Regions from separate parts of the Homo sapiens genome. Here all the other regions are linked to region 1. The links are contacts of gene promoters, found by promoter capture Hi-C in human tissues and cell types (Jung and others, 2019). All regions are on one chromosome and are shown on one strand. The core of a region is centred on a gene start or on the middle of the fragment in contact, and the rest is flanking DNA. Distances in the headings are between cores, read along the strand shown.

Region 1 (4,750 bases), core at 1,226-3,725:
CCCTTCACAGTGTGCACCCTGGACTGACCTGGGGCTCTGCAGAGAGTCCTGCTAGCAAGGAAGTCCTTACCAGAAGTGTCCCTCAACCTTGGACTTCCCAGTCTCCAGAACTGTAAGAAATAAATTCATTTTCTTTATAAATTATTCAGTGTCAGGTATTCAGTTACAGCAATAGAAAATAAACTAAGACAGAAAATTGGTACTGAGGAGTGGGGCTGTTGCTAATAATAAATCCTGAAAATGTGGAAGTGGCTTTGGAACTGGGTAATGGGCAGAGTTTGGAAGAGTCTGGAGGAGCAGGTTAGAAAAGGCCTAGATTCTGGTGAGGGATTGTCTCAAAAAAAAAAAAAAAGAAGAAGAAGAAGTTGTGAAACCATGCCCCCAAATAGTTAAAGAAACCAGTGACTAACGAATTTTTTTTTTTTGAGATGGAGTCTCGCTCTTGTCGCCCAGGCTGGAGTGCAGTGGCGCGATGTCGGCTCGCTGCAATCTCCACCTCCCAGGTTCAAGCGATTCTCCTGCCTCAGCCTCCCGAGGAGCTGGGATTACAGGTGTGCACCACCACGCCCAGCTAATTTTTGTATTTTTAGTAGAGACAGGGTTTCACCATGTTGGCCAGGCTGGTCTCGAACTCCTGACCTCAGGTGATCTGCCCGCCTCGGCCTCCCAAAGTGCTAGGATTATAGGCGTGAGCCACCGCGTCCGGCTAACAGAAATTCTTGAGCTTACAGGATGGCAGATAAGAAACAGTTTGCTGAAACTCCGTTTGTAATATAATACAACTGGCTGAAATCAGTTGAAACCAATATAACCAAACGGAGTCCATGCAGAATGAGCTTGCTGATGTCGCAGCCTGAATTTCCACTGCACTTTTCACACTAACTCTACCTTAATTTGCACATGGGACCCAAGAAGAGGCTTGAAGAGACAACTGCACATGGTCGGGGACTTTCCAGACTTCCTTTTTCCTTCACCATTCACCTGTGAATCCCAGAATCCACCCTCTAAACCTTTTTTCACAATAGTGCTGCCTTAAGGGCAGCACAGAGAGATAGATTTGAACTAAACTCCTGTCACTTTGTTGGTCAACTCGCAATTAAGCTTTTCTTTTCTCAAACGCCTGGTGCCATAGTATTGGCTTCTGTGCACATCGGGCAATGAGGTCTTTTGCGTAGCAGTATTTGGATATCCGGTTTCCTCACGCTATTTATTGAAGCGACTGTCCTTTCCCCATCGTGTATTCTTGACACAAGATTAGTTGACTTGCCTAAGATTAGTTGACTGTATATGCATGGGGTTATTTCTGGTTTTTCTACGCTGTTCCACATTGGTCCATGCGTCTGTTTTTATGCTAGTACTTCACTGGTGAGTTCTACCTCTGGGAATAAATATAAGAATTCTCTAATCACTGGATGTTTGAAGCAATTCACTAAGCAACTCATTATGATGCTTTCTGGCAAAGGATCTCTGAATTTGTCTTCAAATTGTGGATAAAATTGGGTCAAATTTGGCCCATGTTGTCCTGGAGAATCATTTGTGTCACAAATTATCAAATTTATTAGTATAGAGCGGATTTTCATTCAATTTCCTATGTGTCTATGGTTATTTCTCTTTTTTCATCTCTCTCCTCCATCTCCCCGGCCCCATCTTGCTGTCATAAGCATCGTGACTTACCTATAATTCTCCCTACGACTCCAGTTATGGATCAACTTTACTTTTTTCTGTTAATTCTTACCTTCTTTCCATAAATATATTTAAATTTTTTCTGGTTTCCTCAACTGAAGTCAAACCAATTGAGTATTGGTGGGCCGGGCGCGGTGGCTCACGCCTGTAATCCTAGCACTTTGGGAGGCCAAGGCGGGCGGATTGCCTGAGCTCAGGAGTTCGCGACCAGCCTGGGCAACACGGTGACTCCCCGTCTCTACTAAAATACAAAAAAATTAGCCGGGCGTGGCGGCGGGCGCCTGTAGTCCCAGCTACTCGGGAGGCTGAGGCAGAAGAATGGCGTCAACCCGGGAGGCGGAGTTTGCAGTGAGCCGAGATCACGCCACTGCACTCCAGCCTGGGTGACAGAGCGAGACGCCGTCTCAAGAAAATATATATATATATTGGTGGATTCGGTTTCCCTTTATGTTTCTCAGAAAACCGTGTGAGCCCGTTTGGAGTCACTCCGTCTCCAAGCGACAGGCACTTCCGGACGCGGGGCACTGTGGGAAGTTGAGTTCGCGGGGCTCCTTCCTTCGCGCATGCGCACATGCACTCTTGGTAATGCTTGCAGGTGGCCCGTTCTTCCTCTTTGTCCTTCGCTGCCACGTGAGAGGGGAGTGTACGCGTGTGCGCGCGTGCGAGTGTGCGCGTGTGCAGTCCCCGACTCGTCCCGGCCCGTTCGGAGCCGCCCGGGAGCGCACAAAGGCCGACGGTTTGGGCGCGTGCGCGGGACACGGGGGACGGGCGGTGTCACGTGATCGCGAGGCCGCGGGCGCGCGGGCGCGACTCGGCGGCGGCGTCTTTTGTGAGTTCAGTGAGTTTATTGCGGGCCCGGCGCTGGGGGCTCCGGGAATGGCGGGGGAGGCGCGCGGGAGTGGCCGCGGGGAGCTTCGGCTTCAAGGCCCTGGGCGTCCGCGCGCGGATGCGGGTCTGGGGCGGGTTGGGGCTGGGCCGGGTCGTGAAGATGCCGTGGGCCGCGGAGCTGCGCGGATTCTGGGCTGTGGGGCGGGCACGGCCTTTCCGGAGGCGCCGCTCCTGGGCGTCCTTTCAGGCGGGCGTGGAGGCGCCAGCCTCGGGCGCGTTTAGCCTCGGGCGCGTTTAGCCTCGACCTCGGGCCAGCCCGCTTGCCGCGCCGTGGCCCTAAGGAGCGGCTGCCCTGCTGGACCGCATCCACCAGCAGCCTGGCTCTGCCGCTATCGAAGGAGGCTTTTAAAGCGCTGGGGTTACAGGTGTGAGCCACCATTCCTGGCCGTGTATTTTTTAATGGTTATATTTATTGACTGTTTTAAATTTTTTAAGTGACTTTTGCTTTTGGTATGGTGTAGCGAAATCTCCCCTCAAATTATACATATATTCATTCACCTGTGGTTTTTTTTTGTAGACATTCTTAGGGTTTCCATTATTTTAAAATTTAACCCACTGAAAGTAGTTGTATGAAATAGCTACGTTTATTTTCTTTCAAATATTCTTGTATTCATTAAATAATTTAATTTTACTGATGGCTTTGAAATGCTACATTTATTGCATGCTGACTCTTGCATATTTAGACAGTTTGCTTTTTTTCATCTGTATAACTTCTCTGGAGCCAGTGTCAAATGTTATAATGATTATAATTTGTATGTATTACAGTGGGCCTGTTCACACTCATTATTTTGTATTTCCAAAAGCATCCAGGCCCGGTGTGGTAGGGCATGCCTGTAGCCCCAGCTACTCTGTAGGTTGAGGTAGGAGGATCACTTGAGCCCAGGAGTTCAGGGCTGCAGTGAGCTATGGTTATGCCATTGCACTTCAGCCTGGACAACACAGTAAGACCCTGTCAAAAAAAAAAAAAAAGTGTCCGAATTGTTCTTGAACCTTTTTTCTTACACATAAACTTTAGAATTTTGAGATTCTGATTGGAGTCGATGAGTTATATAAATCATTTGAGGTCAAATTATCTTCACAATCTGAAGTCTTCCTATCCCAGAATAAAATCGAATTATAAATTTCTTTAATTCTATTTTTATAGTTCTCATTGGTGTTTTTAGTATGCTTCATATGGGTCTTGATATTCCTACATATTTTATGTATTTTGTCAATTATGAGTCGGATTTTATTTTTTTGTTATTTTATGTGAGTTGTTTATATCTTACAGAAATAAGGTTATTGACCTGGAAAGATGTTCTTCACATAATGGGAAAAAAACAAAAACAGCTTTTAAATATGACCATATGCTTCCATTGTATGAAAAATATCACAATAGTTTCCATCATCCTAAGAATGGTTACCTGTGGTGAGATCATAGATAATAGTTCTTATTTAGCTTGTGTATGTTTTTTATATTTTGCCATCATATATTACTTTTATAATAATAATTATAGCTAGTATATGTTTCGTATGACTGTGTGCCAGCTTTTGTTCTAAGATTTATGTATTATCACAATTTAAGGTATAAAGGAGTCATTTCTTGTATAACTGGGAGAAACTGCTGTGTGTTTCTGAGTTGGCACTGAAGTTTGAACCACAAAAAGGCATGAAAAAGAAAGTGCTGCTTGTTAGTGTGATACAGTTGAGGCAGGGCGTCCTTCATTTATATTTTTGTGGGAATTAGTGACTGAATGTGTGCATGGGAATAGGAGCTGACTCCAGGATTTATGTTGTGTGTGTTTGTGCATGTAGATATGCACAAATGACAATATGACTTTAGTATTCATGCTTTGAACATAGCAGGATAGAGAATTAACATTTGAATTTTGCTACTTACTAAATGTGCAATCACAGGCACATTTTACAATCACTCATTGTCCCAGTTTTCTCTCTGTAAAATGGAGATTATGTTAAACGCCTTATAGGGTTGTGCATGAGTTAAATTTAAAATGCTTAGTATATTGTCTCACATACAGAAAGCACTGGAATGTTAGCTGTAACTGTTATTACAAGGCCCCAGTCGCTTTCCTTTTAACACCTCATTTGTTTCTTAGACTCCCATTGTGAGGTCCACTTTATCTTCACCATTTTAGCAAGTACAGAAATTGAGGCTTTGAAGGCAAGAAAGGAGGGGGGA
Region 2 (4,750 bases), core at 881-3,380, 110 kb before region 1:
GAGCCACCGCGCCTGGCCTGGTTTATTTAATGTTAGCATTCTGACAAGATGTTAAATGACCCGGATACAATGAGTAATAATTGTGTTCTAAGTTGCAAAGATCCCATAAGGGAAATAAAGAATTATTAAATATCATCACCAACTTCACAGATTTGGTCTCAAAGTAAATCTGCTACATACTAAATAATTTAAATTAATATGGTGATGGAGTGTGTGGCGTTGGAAGAAAACTTGTTGAAGAAAGCTTACTTTATTTTTATTCATTTAAGAGGCAAGGTTTCACTCTGTCACTCAGGCTGGAATGCAGTGGCCCCATCATGGCTCACTGCAGCCTTGAACTCCTGGGCTCAAGTGACCCTTCTGCCTCAGCTTCCCAAGTAGCTGGGATTACAGACATGCACCATCATGGCTAACTTTTTTTTTGAGATGGAGTTTTGTTCTTGTTGCCCAGACTGGAGTGCAATGCCGTGATCTCGGCTCACTGCAACCTCCTCCTCCCAGGTACAAGTGATTCTCTTGTCTCAGCCTCCCAAGTAGCTCGGATTACAGGCATGTGCCACCATGCCCGGCTAATTTTTTTGTATTTAGTAGAGACGGGGTTTCACCATGTTATTCAGGCTGGTCGCGAACTCCTGAACTCAGGTGATCCACCCACCTCGGCCTCCCAAAGTGCTGGGATTACAGGCTTGCGTCACTGCACCCAGCCTCTCATGGCTAATTAAATTTTTTTTTTGTAGAGATGAGTCTTGCTATGTTGTCCAGCTGGTCTCAAACGCCTGGGCTCAAGCGGTCCTCCCAATTTGGCCTCCCCAAGCACTGGGATTACAGGTGTGAGACACCACCCCCAGTTGAAAAGTTACTTTGGATATAACTGATTTGAATTTTATTCTTGTGAAATAGTGATGAGATTTTATATTGTCTACTTCTAAGCGGCAGACAGTCATCATGAGGCAAATAAAATTTTCTAAGGTAAGGAGAGTGAGAATGGCCTTTCCCCTTTAGTCTATGGCAAAATAAAGGGGGGCATGGGAGAATCCTGATGGTGGAAATCATTTTATTCTCATACACAGGTTATTACAGCACAATTAGGAAGAGACAATCACAACTCACACAATGCTATATTCAAATTATGCCAAAGTCCCAACATATTCATTTCATTTGCAAGTTAATTCCTAAAAGATCAGAGCAGAGTGATACACAAGTTTATTAACACAGACTACAACGTCAATGAAGCCTCCTGGCATTGTCGGAAATAGAAAACATGTATAAAAATCTTCGAAATGCAGGTTAAAATGCAAATCCAAGTGAAAGGAAAAAGCACTACTGTGAAGCCTAACGGCAATTATTTCCCTTCAAAGGAGGTTTGTGTCCAGCTGGAGAGAAGGCCTGGTGGACAGAAGACAAAGGAAGGCAAAATTCCTAAGGGAGAAATTCAAAAAAATGATGGGGGTGCTGCCCTCTGCTGGGCCTCTTTGGCAGTCGACTTCAACTTAATGCATTAGCGCCGTAAGGTTGTAAGAGAAGCAACTCTGGCTTGATCTTAGAAAAGCTGATTTTCTTTTTGGCAGCATATTTCCGGTGAGAACTGATGGGAAAGGTGGTGTGGATTCGTGGACGAAGTCTCTAACGTAATCTTGACTACTGAAGGGTAAAGACTTGCCCACAGGTTAGAGATTACATGAATTATCCACAACGAATGGTAGCAGATGATGGGTCAGGGGTATTTTAATTGTACAGCATAACACTTTAGAGAGCTGGGAAGTATGGGACATCATTCCCGTCTTTCTTCACTCAGTAACTGATTATCTTGTTTCTTGTCCACAGATATTTAACCTAAATAACAATGCTTTTTGAAGGTTGTTTGGCTAACCCAGAGGTAGTAAAAGACTTCATAAGTCTTTCTATTACTGAAGAGGAGCTTAGTAATAACTGCAAGTCTATTTATATATGTAGCAGATGGTAACAATCTCCAGAGCCACTGACATATGCAGCAGAAAAGCACAAAGAACTTTGTATTTGTTATAATTTCTACTGCATTGTCCAGATACAGATAGAAAATACTGATATGTAGTGTGGGGAATCTTGAGACATTTCAGCCTATGCACTATGCGGCACTTGTACTGATAACTGATTATCACAATTTTATTAAATGCTCATCATTTAACAGATGGCACAGAAAATAAATGGCACACTCAGAATATTAACTCAAGAACAATTAATAAAGGCACTATTTACAAATATGTGTTCACAATTAAAGACACCCAACCAGTGGGTTGGGGAAGCACCCAGTAGTAGTTAAGTCTGAAGATCATGGAGAGGGAATGGTGTCAACTGAAACCGAGAGATCTACAGCCATAGATGGGGCTTCCCAAAGGAAGCTGTATCCTTACGGGAACACAGAAGCTACCATGGTCCAGGCAGGAGGAAGGGAACGGTAATAAATAACTTTTTCTCCTCCCACCTCTGGTATCTCCCACTGTTCAAACCTATGAAGAAACCCCAGTCTCTAGAAGACAGCCTCAGGGGGGAGCAGAGCAGAAAATGGGGGAAAAGGGATCAAAGAAATAGGGAATACTCAGCACACATGCAGATCCACAATACATACAATTTCTGTCATGTGCCTGCTACAAATTCAAGCTACCCCGAGCCCTGAAGGAATAGGCTTCTAACTCAGATGATGCAGTCTACTCAACTATATTTAAAAATTCACACTTAAGTGTTATCGTCATCACACTTTACTTCTAAATAAACTCCAAATACGTTATCATTACTTTGGCTTTAAGCAGCCAATTCCCTTTTAAAAAGATTTTAAAAAGAGAGAAATATCTTTTATATTTACCCACATATTCACCATTTTCAGAACTTCATTCCTTTGTACAGACCCAAACTTAAGTTTTGTATTATTTTCCTGCTGCCCTCAAACATCCTTTAATGTTTCCCAAAGACAGGTCTACAGGTAATAAAATTACCTTTGATTTAGTTTCTCAGAAACAGTCTTTATTTTGCCTTCATTTTTGAAAACGTTTTTGACAGTAACAGAATTCTAGGTTGCAGGGTTTGTTGTTTATTTCATTAAGGAATTTAGAGATAATACTCCATTGTCTTATAGCTTGCATAGTTCTCACCAGAAATATGCTGCCATTCTTTGTTCATGTGTATGTATTATCTTTTTTTCTCAAGGTGTTTTAAAAGTATTCTGTTTATCAGTGCTTTTCATGAATGTGACTCTGAGGTGCACTGCTGTGATGTAAATTATGTTTATTCTACTTCAGGTCATTTGAGCTTCTTGAATATGTGGGGGTATTGTTTTCACCAGATTTGGAAAATCTTTAGCCATTATTTATTCAAATACTTCTTCATGCCTCTTCATTTTCTCCTCTCCTTCTGGGACTCCAGTTAAACATATATTACACTACTGTAATGGTTTTCCTATTCTCTTCCTCTTCTCTAAGTCTTTTTTTCTCTCTGTATATCACTTTGGTAGTTTTTATTCTTACTCTTCAAGTTCATTGATTTTTTCTTCTTTTTCTGTATCTAATCTCTCCACTCGGGATTTTAACAAAATCAGAAGTTGATTTCATCCCTAGAAGTTCCATTTTGGCCAGTAAAAATATCTCTTATACCTCAGGTTTCATCAATCTTATGTTTTCCTCTACTTTATATTTACAATAGCTCTTTTAATATCCTTGTCTACTAATTCCATCACCTCTGTCTTTTCTGGGTTTCTACTGATTTTTCTCCTGGTTATAAGTCATATTTTATTGCTTCTTTGCATAACACATTAGTTTTTTTGGATGCCGGACACTGTAGGTCCAGAGTAGCTTTTAATCTAGAGTTAATTAGCTGCACTACTAAAACAAAACCTTTCTGAGAATTCTACCTGATGCTCCATGTGTTTCCACTCTGTTTCCACTCTGGCTGCTGAGAACATAAACTATTCCCAGCCCTGCATGAGTTCCAGGAATTGTTCAGCCTGCTGCTTTCCAGTGCTTCTTTTCCTGGCCTCAGTGCAAGTCAGTACTAAGTCAAAGGACTCAGGGGACTCCCAGCAGACTTCTTGAGCCCTGTATCTAGAAGGATCCCATCTCTCCAGTACTTTCCCCTGGAAATTCTAGCTGCTGTGGCCTCCCCAACTGCCAGTCCTGTCTCTTCAATTCAGCGAGATTTATTGTTTCCCTTCCCTGAACTGCAACCTAGGAACTGCCATGCGGGGGCAGGCTGAGAAACCATGGTGCTCACCTCACTCTGTCTGCAGTCTCCTGAGGATCACAAACCTGTGCTTGTCCTATGTCTAAAAACCATTACCTATTATACGTATTGTATAGCTTCCAGTTGTTTAAGGCAGGAGAGGAAATCTGACCCTTGTTATTCCATCACAGCAGTAAGGAGAACTCTTCACATCTAAGTAAACACACCTCACACTTACAATTCACTGCTTTTTGTAATAATTGATGTATAAAGAACACCACTTCCTTACAGAACTATTTCAATAGCATCATGCTTGTCAAATTCTTTACATTATTGAGACTACTCTTCAGTATGAACCTCTGTAGGTATTATTCTCAAGTGTACAGTGAGTTGTCCTTTCTTGAAATCTTCCACTTTGTTATAAAAAACAATAGAATTTTCTTCCTGTTTAGGTATTCTAAACATTTAATAAACTGACTTTTGACTAAAAGCTTCTCTACTATCACAACACTAATAAGGTTTTCACCTCAATGAGTCATCCAATATGTAACGAGTAGTGTCT
Region 3 (4,750 bases), core at 753-3,252, 78 kb after region 1:
CCACACCCACCCAGTAAGTTTGTACTAATTTACGCTTCCATTGGTAGTCTAAAGCAAGTATACGACACACCCACCAATACTTGGTCAACTCATCCCTTTTCATATTATAATACATAATGGAACAGAATATGAACACTTGCTCTACAAAAAATAAGTCTGTGTAGTGAATGGGGTGGTGGTGAGTGGGATGAGGGAAGAGAGGAGAAGGACTAGGAGAGGGACATAATATAAATAACATTAAACTGCTGTTGTCCTAACAGTCTTAGTTTCTGCACACCTGTTATGGTGCAACATTTTCCTATACCTAGAAGAAAAATTAATTCCATGCATTTTTACTATAATGGAGTCTCATGTTACTCAGGCTGGTCTCAAACTCCTGGGCTCAAGCAATCCTCCCACGTCAGCCTCCAGAGCAGATAGGACTACAGGCACAGGCCATTGCACCCACCTCCTTGCAACTTTTACCTTACAATCACTTAAATAGCTTTTAAGTTAAACTTCCACTAGAATGGTAAGTAAAAGAAAAGGCACAAAATTTGCTGAAGAACCGTAAATATTTAACTGAACACCTACACTGGGCCAAGTAATAAAACAATGAAAAATTTAGACAAAGTTCCCACCTTACCAAAACTTACAGTGTAGAGGGCACAATACACAAACAGGCAATACAGTGTGAAAGTGTGACAAGTATTGTTAAAGCAGATGAAGGACACAATACCTAAAGGATAAATAGGACAGGTTAAATTAGGGAGACAGTGAAGATAAAGGGAATAACCAGAGATAAGGCCTGAAAAGGCAAGAGTTTGAGCAAGGTCTTGTAAAAAGATTTTATCTTAACTGGAGAAAAAGGCCAGAAGAAGATTAAACGTGAAATGTTATGTGATCAGGTTAGTACTTTAGATGGATCACCCTGGGAAGTGTAGAGAACAGTTGATAGGAAAGCACAATATATAAACAATATTATTGATTGCAGTATTGTTATAAAAACTCTGGAGGCAAATGGATCAAATACATTATGGTACAAGCATATAATCAAATACTAAGCAGCTATTACAAATGAAATAGAACTACATGCACTGACATGGAAAGATGTTTAAAAAGATGTTGGATAGGCTGGGGGCGATGGCCTCACAATCCCAACAATTTGGGAGGCTGAGGCAGGCGGATCACCTGAGGTTAGGAGTTTGAGACCAGCCTGACCAACATGGAGAAACCCTGTCTCTACTAAAAATACAAAATTAGCCAGGAGTGGTGGCACATGCCTGTAATCCCAGCTACTTGGGAGGCTGAGGCAGGAGAATTGCTTGAACCCAGGAGGCAGAGGTTGCTGTGAGCCGAGAACGTGCCACTGCACTCCAGCCTGGGAAAAAGCAAAACTCCTTCTCAAAAAAAAAAAAAAAAAAAAAAAAAAGATGTGGGATAAAAGGTATAACTCAATTTTTATAAAATGTTTGTATGTACATAAAGTCTGACAGAATGCACATTCACCTACGATATTAATTTTTTAAGGCAGTAGAATCCAGGGTTTCCTTCTGTGTAGGGCAGAAGTTATTTACATTGTTTTCTCCTATGCATGTATTAGTTTTATTATTAAAAACCACAAAGTTTTTGTTTTGTTTTGTTTTGTTTTTTAATAGGATACCATGGCAGCTGCATAGAAAACATACTAAAGGAAAGTATGATTCAAGTCAGAGAAACCAGTTAGGAGGCTATTGCAATAAAATCCAGGTGAGATGCTGGGCGAGACTGTGCCTGAGTCTACCTCCTGGTGTACAGGATGAGTATTCCTTATTCAAAACACTTGGGACCAGAACTGTTTTGGATTTTGGAATATTTGCATTATACCTACTAGTTGAGCATCACAAATCTGAAAATCCAAAATTTTAAATGCTCCAATGAGCATTTCTTTTGAAAGTCACATCGGCGCACAAGGTTTCAGGTTTTGGAGCATTCTGAATTTCAGATTTTCAGATTTGAGATGCTCAATCTGTTCCAAGATCACTGGGCCAAAATTAGAGTGTAAATTCCAGTCCTAACCAAGCAAAGTACAATCCCTTGCTGAGTACTCCTTAAGATGATCTCACCCAAGGACCACATGCAGTTGGGACGATTTTCTTGAGACGGAGTCTTGCTCTGTCACCTAGGCCGGAATGCAGTGGTGCGATCTCGGCTTACCACAACCTCTGCCTCCCGGGTTCACAGCATTCTCCTGCCTCAGCCTCCCGAGTAGCTGGTACTACAGGCGCCCACCACCACACTTGGCTAATTTTTTGTATTTTTAGTAGAGACGAGGTTTCATCATGTTAGCCAGGATGGTCTCAATCTCCTGACCTCGTGATCCGCCTGCCTCGGCCTCCCAAAGTGCTGGGATTAGAAGCGTGAGCCACTGCACCCGGCCAGTTGGGACCATTTTCTAACTACTGATGGCTAGTGCTATACCCACCAGGGCTGCTAACACCTGAAACCACTTGGTTTCACAGCATGACTGCAGGCTCTCCTTTCCAAGCTACAAATGAATCCCAGTAGACCTAAATACCCATCATCTTCTTACAGACTGCTGGGATTTAACCTATACTCCCTCTAAATTTTGTTTTCACTGGTCATAGCCCCTGATCTGGTCTTTTTTCCTCTATCAATAATGTCATTACAATCTTCTGTATTCCTCAGGCCAAAGCCAGAAACCCTAAACCCCTGCCCTTCTGGAGACTCTTTCATGGTGCCCTCTGAGATTCCCTTAATAAACTCCCTTAATATCCTCAACTATTTCCCTGAACATTTCCTTTCATTAATTTAAACTTGGCTGTTCCCTGGGAAGGAAAAAACACCTACCTGACAACAATCACATCACAAGGGGGCTTATTCTCATGTATTCCACATATCCACAGGTTGGAAGTGGGATCAGTATCTTCCTTACTCCCTAACACTGCTTCTAACCATTGCAGCCTGGAGAAAACCACTCCTTCCTTTGAAGTTCATACCATCTAGTTATACCACTTTCTCCCTCTCTTCCTTGCTATCTTTTATTTAAATGACCTCTCCTCAATCACATAGACTTTGCTACTTGCTTTGCTGTCTTCTCCACTGATGGCTCTATTGATAACTTGGAAGGACTTTCAAATACATAGAGATCTTCTTCACTAAAACCTCCTTGCAGAATTTCATCCACCTTCCTCTTAGCAGATAATCTTACCATGAAACCTATAATCATATATCTATATTTTACTGGCCAGGAACAGTAGAAATGGCATCAAGGCTACAAAGAGGTTGGGATAAGTAGTTTTGTAGCTAAATACAATACTACTGTTAGCAAAACTGAAGATCTATTCATAAAGAATAAAAAATATATATATTTGGTTAGTAATTAGCAGTGGCTGCCACACAGTTCTTAGGAAACACAAAACATTATATAGTTCACATATTCTGATCACTGCTTAGTACAGTTAGGTGTAAATAAATAAACAAGTAATTTAAACCAACCCACCCATTTTTCTACTCCTGAAAGAATGGTGGGAGTATCCCTCCGCCTCATGGCAAACACCAATACTTTTGTTTGTGCTCTAAACATCTACACCCCATTCTCAGAAGCTTATATTAAACTTTATTATGCTGCATATTAAACCTCACCATACTACATTCATCACATTAGAATTCAAACATGTTCTAGTTTTTCATATTTTAAACATATTATCTCTTTACTCCAAATCTCTCCAGCTACTACCCTTTCTCCTATTATTCAAACTTGTCTACATCCAGTCTTTACTTCTTTGCCCTTTATTGATTCCTAAAGTCAGCCCAATCTAGCAACCATCTTCATTATGTACCACTATGTTATTTCCAACTACAATCACAAATGATCTTCACTTGGCTGTATATGTTTACCTTTTTAGACTTCATCTAATTGGATCCCTAAGTAACACTAAAAACATTTACCTTCACCTTCCTTTTTTTTTTTTTTTTTTTGAGATGAAGTCCTGCTCTGTCACCAGGCTGGAGTGCAGTGGTGAGATCTCATCTCACTGCAACCTCTGCCTCCCAGGTTCAAGTGATTCTTCTGCCTCAGCTCCTGAGTAGCTGGGACTACAGGCATGTGCCACCACACCCGGCTAATTTTTGTATTTTAGTAGAACCAGGGTTTCACCATGTTGGCCAGGATGGTCTCGATCTGACCTTGTGATCCGCCTGCCTCAGCCTCTCAAAGTGCCAGGATTACAGGCGTGAACCACCACACCTGGCCAACTTCACCTTCCTTTTTGAAACTTGTTTGTCTTGGTTCAGTGAAACTCCACTCTTCTTGTTTTCCTCTTATCTCTCTACTATAGTTCCTTTAAATGTATGTCTTCAGGGTAGGTGGCAGACCTTCCCTTTTCATTCTTACTCACCTTCCAAAGCCTGTTATTGTCTCTTTACTGATGTCACTACAATTTATATCTCTATCTAGACACCTCCTCAATTCTAGAATTGCGTACCAACCTCTTCATCTGGATGTCTCACCATCCTCTGAGGCTAACATGAATAACTACAACAGCAGCTACTGCCTTCTTTCTTCCACCGTATGCCACTCCTTCCATATTTTGTTAGAACTAATCTGGTCAGTATCTGCAAGATCAAGCAGCAAAATCTCATGCTTTACTTAGCATTTAAAATTGGTAACTTCCCCTCTGTCTGAAAACTTTCTGTAGTTCCAATGCTGAAATGTTGGGATACTCTTTTTGCTGTTCTAAACACTTGCTTTCAGTGATCTTGGTTCTAT

The links. The method cuts DNA at HindIII sites, captures the fragments that hold promoters and counts their contacts. A contact is called where the count stands out against the background at its distance.
Region 2: a fragment that was not itself captured here is called in contact with the fragment with the promoter of ZNF84 in region 1 in 10 of the 25 tissues and cell types used here (H1 embryonic stem cells, IMR-90 fibroblasts, adrenal gland and 7 more).
Region 3: a contact is called between a fragment that was not itself captured here and the fragment with the promoter of ZNF84 in region 1, in 6 of the 25 tissues and cell types used here (IMR-90 fibroblasts, dorsolateral prefrontal cortex, hippocampus and 3 more).

The regions. Positions count from the first base shown.
Region 1 is chr12:133,035,034-133,039,783 of GRCh38, forward strand. ZNF84 (zinc finger protein 84) reads left to right here and starts at 2,476. Exons shown (of 5, transcript NM_001289971.2): 1 at 2,476-2,512. ZNF84-DT (ZNF84 divergent transcript) reads right to left here and starts at 2,189. Exons shown (of 3, transcript NR_110091.1): 1 at 1,736-2,189. RefSeq lists an enhancer at 2,093-2,182 and a silencer at 2,403-2,582. The HindIII fragment of the contact is 8,441 bases long and covers 1-4,750 here.
Region 2 is chr12:132,920,421-132,925,170 of GRCh38, forward strand. ZNF605 (zinc finger protein 605) reads right to left here. Exons shown (of 5, transcript NM_183238.4): 5 at 1-4,750. Among named protein-coding and RNA genes, the nearest start is that of ZNF605, 34 kb to the right of the region's middle. The HindIII fragment of the contact is 5,257 bases long and covers 1-4,750 here.
Region 3 is chr12:133,114,006-133,118,755 of GRCh38, forward strand. It overlaps ZNF891 (zinc finger protein 891), which reads right to left. Exons shown (of 2, transcript NM_001277291.2): 2 at 1-4,750. Among named protein-coding and RNA genes, the nearest start is that of ZNF891, 14 kb to the right of the region's middle. The HindIII fragment of the contact is 6,343 bases long and covers 1-4,750 here.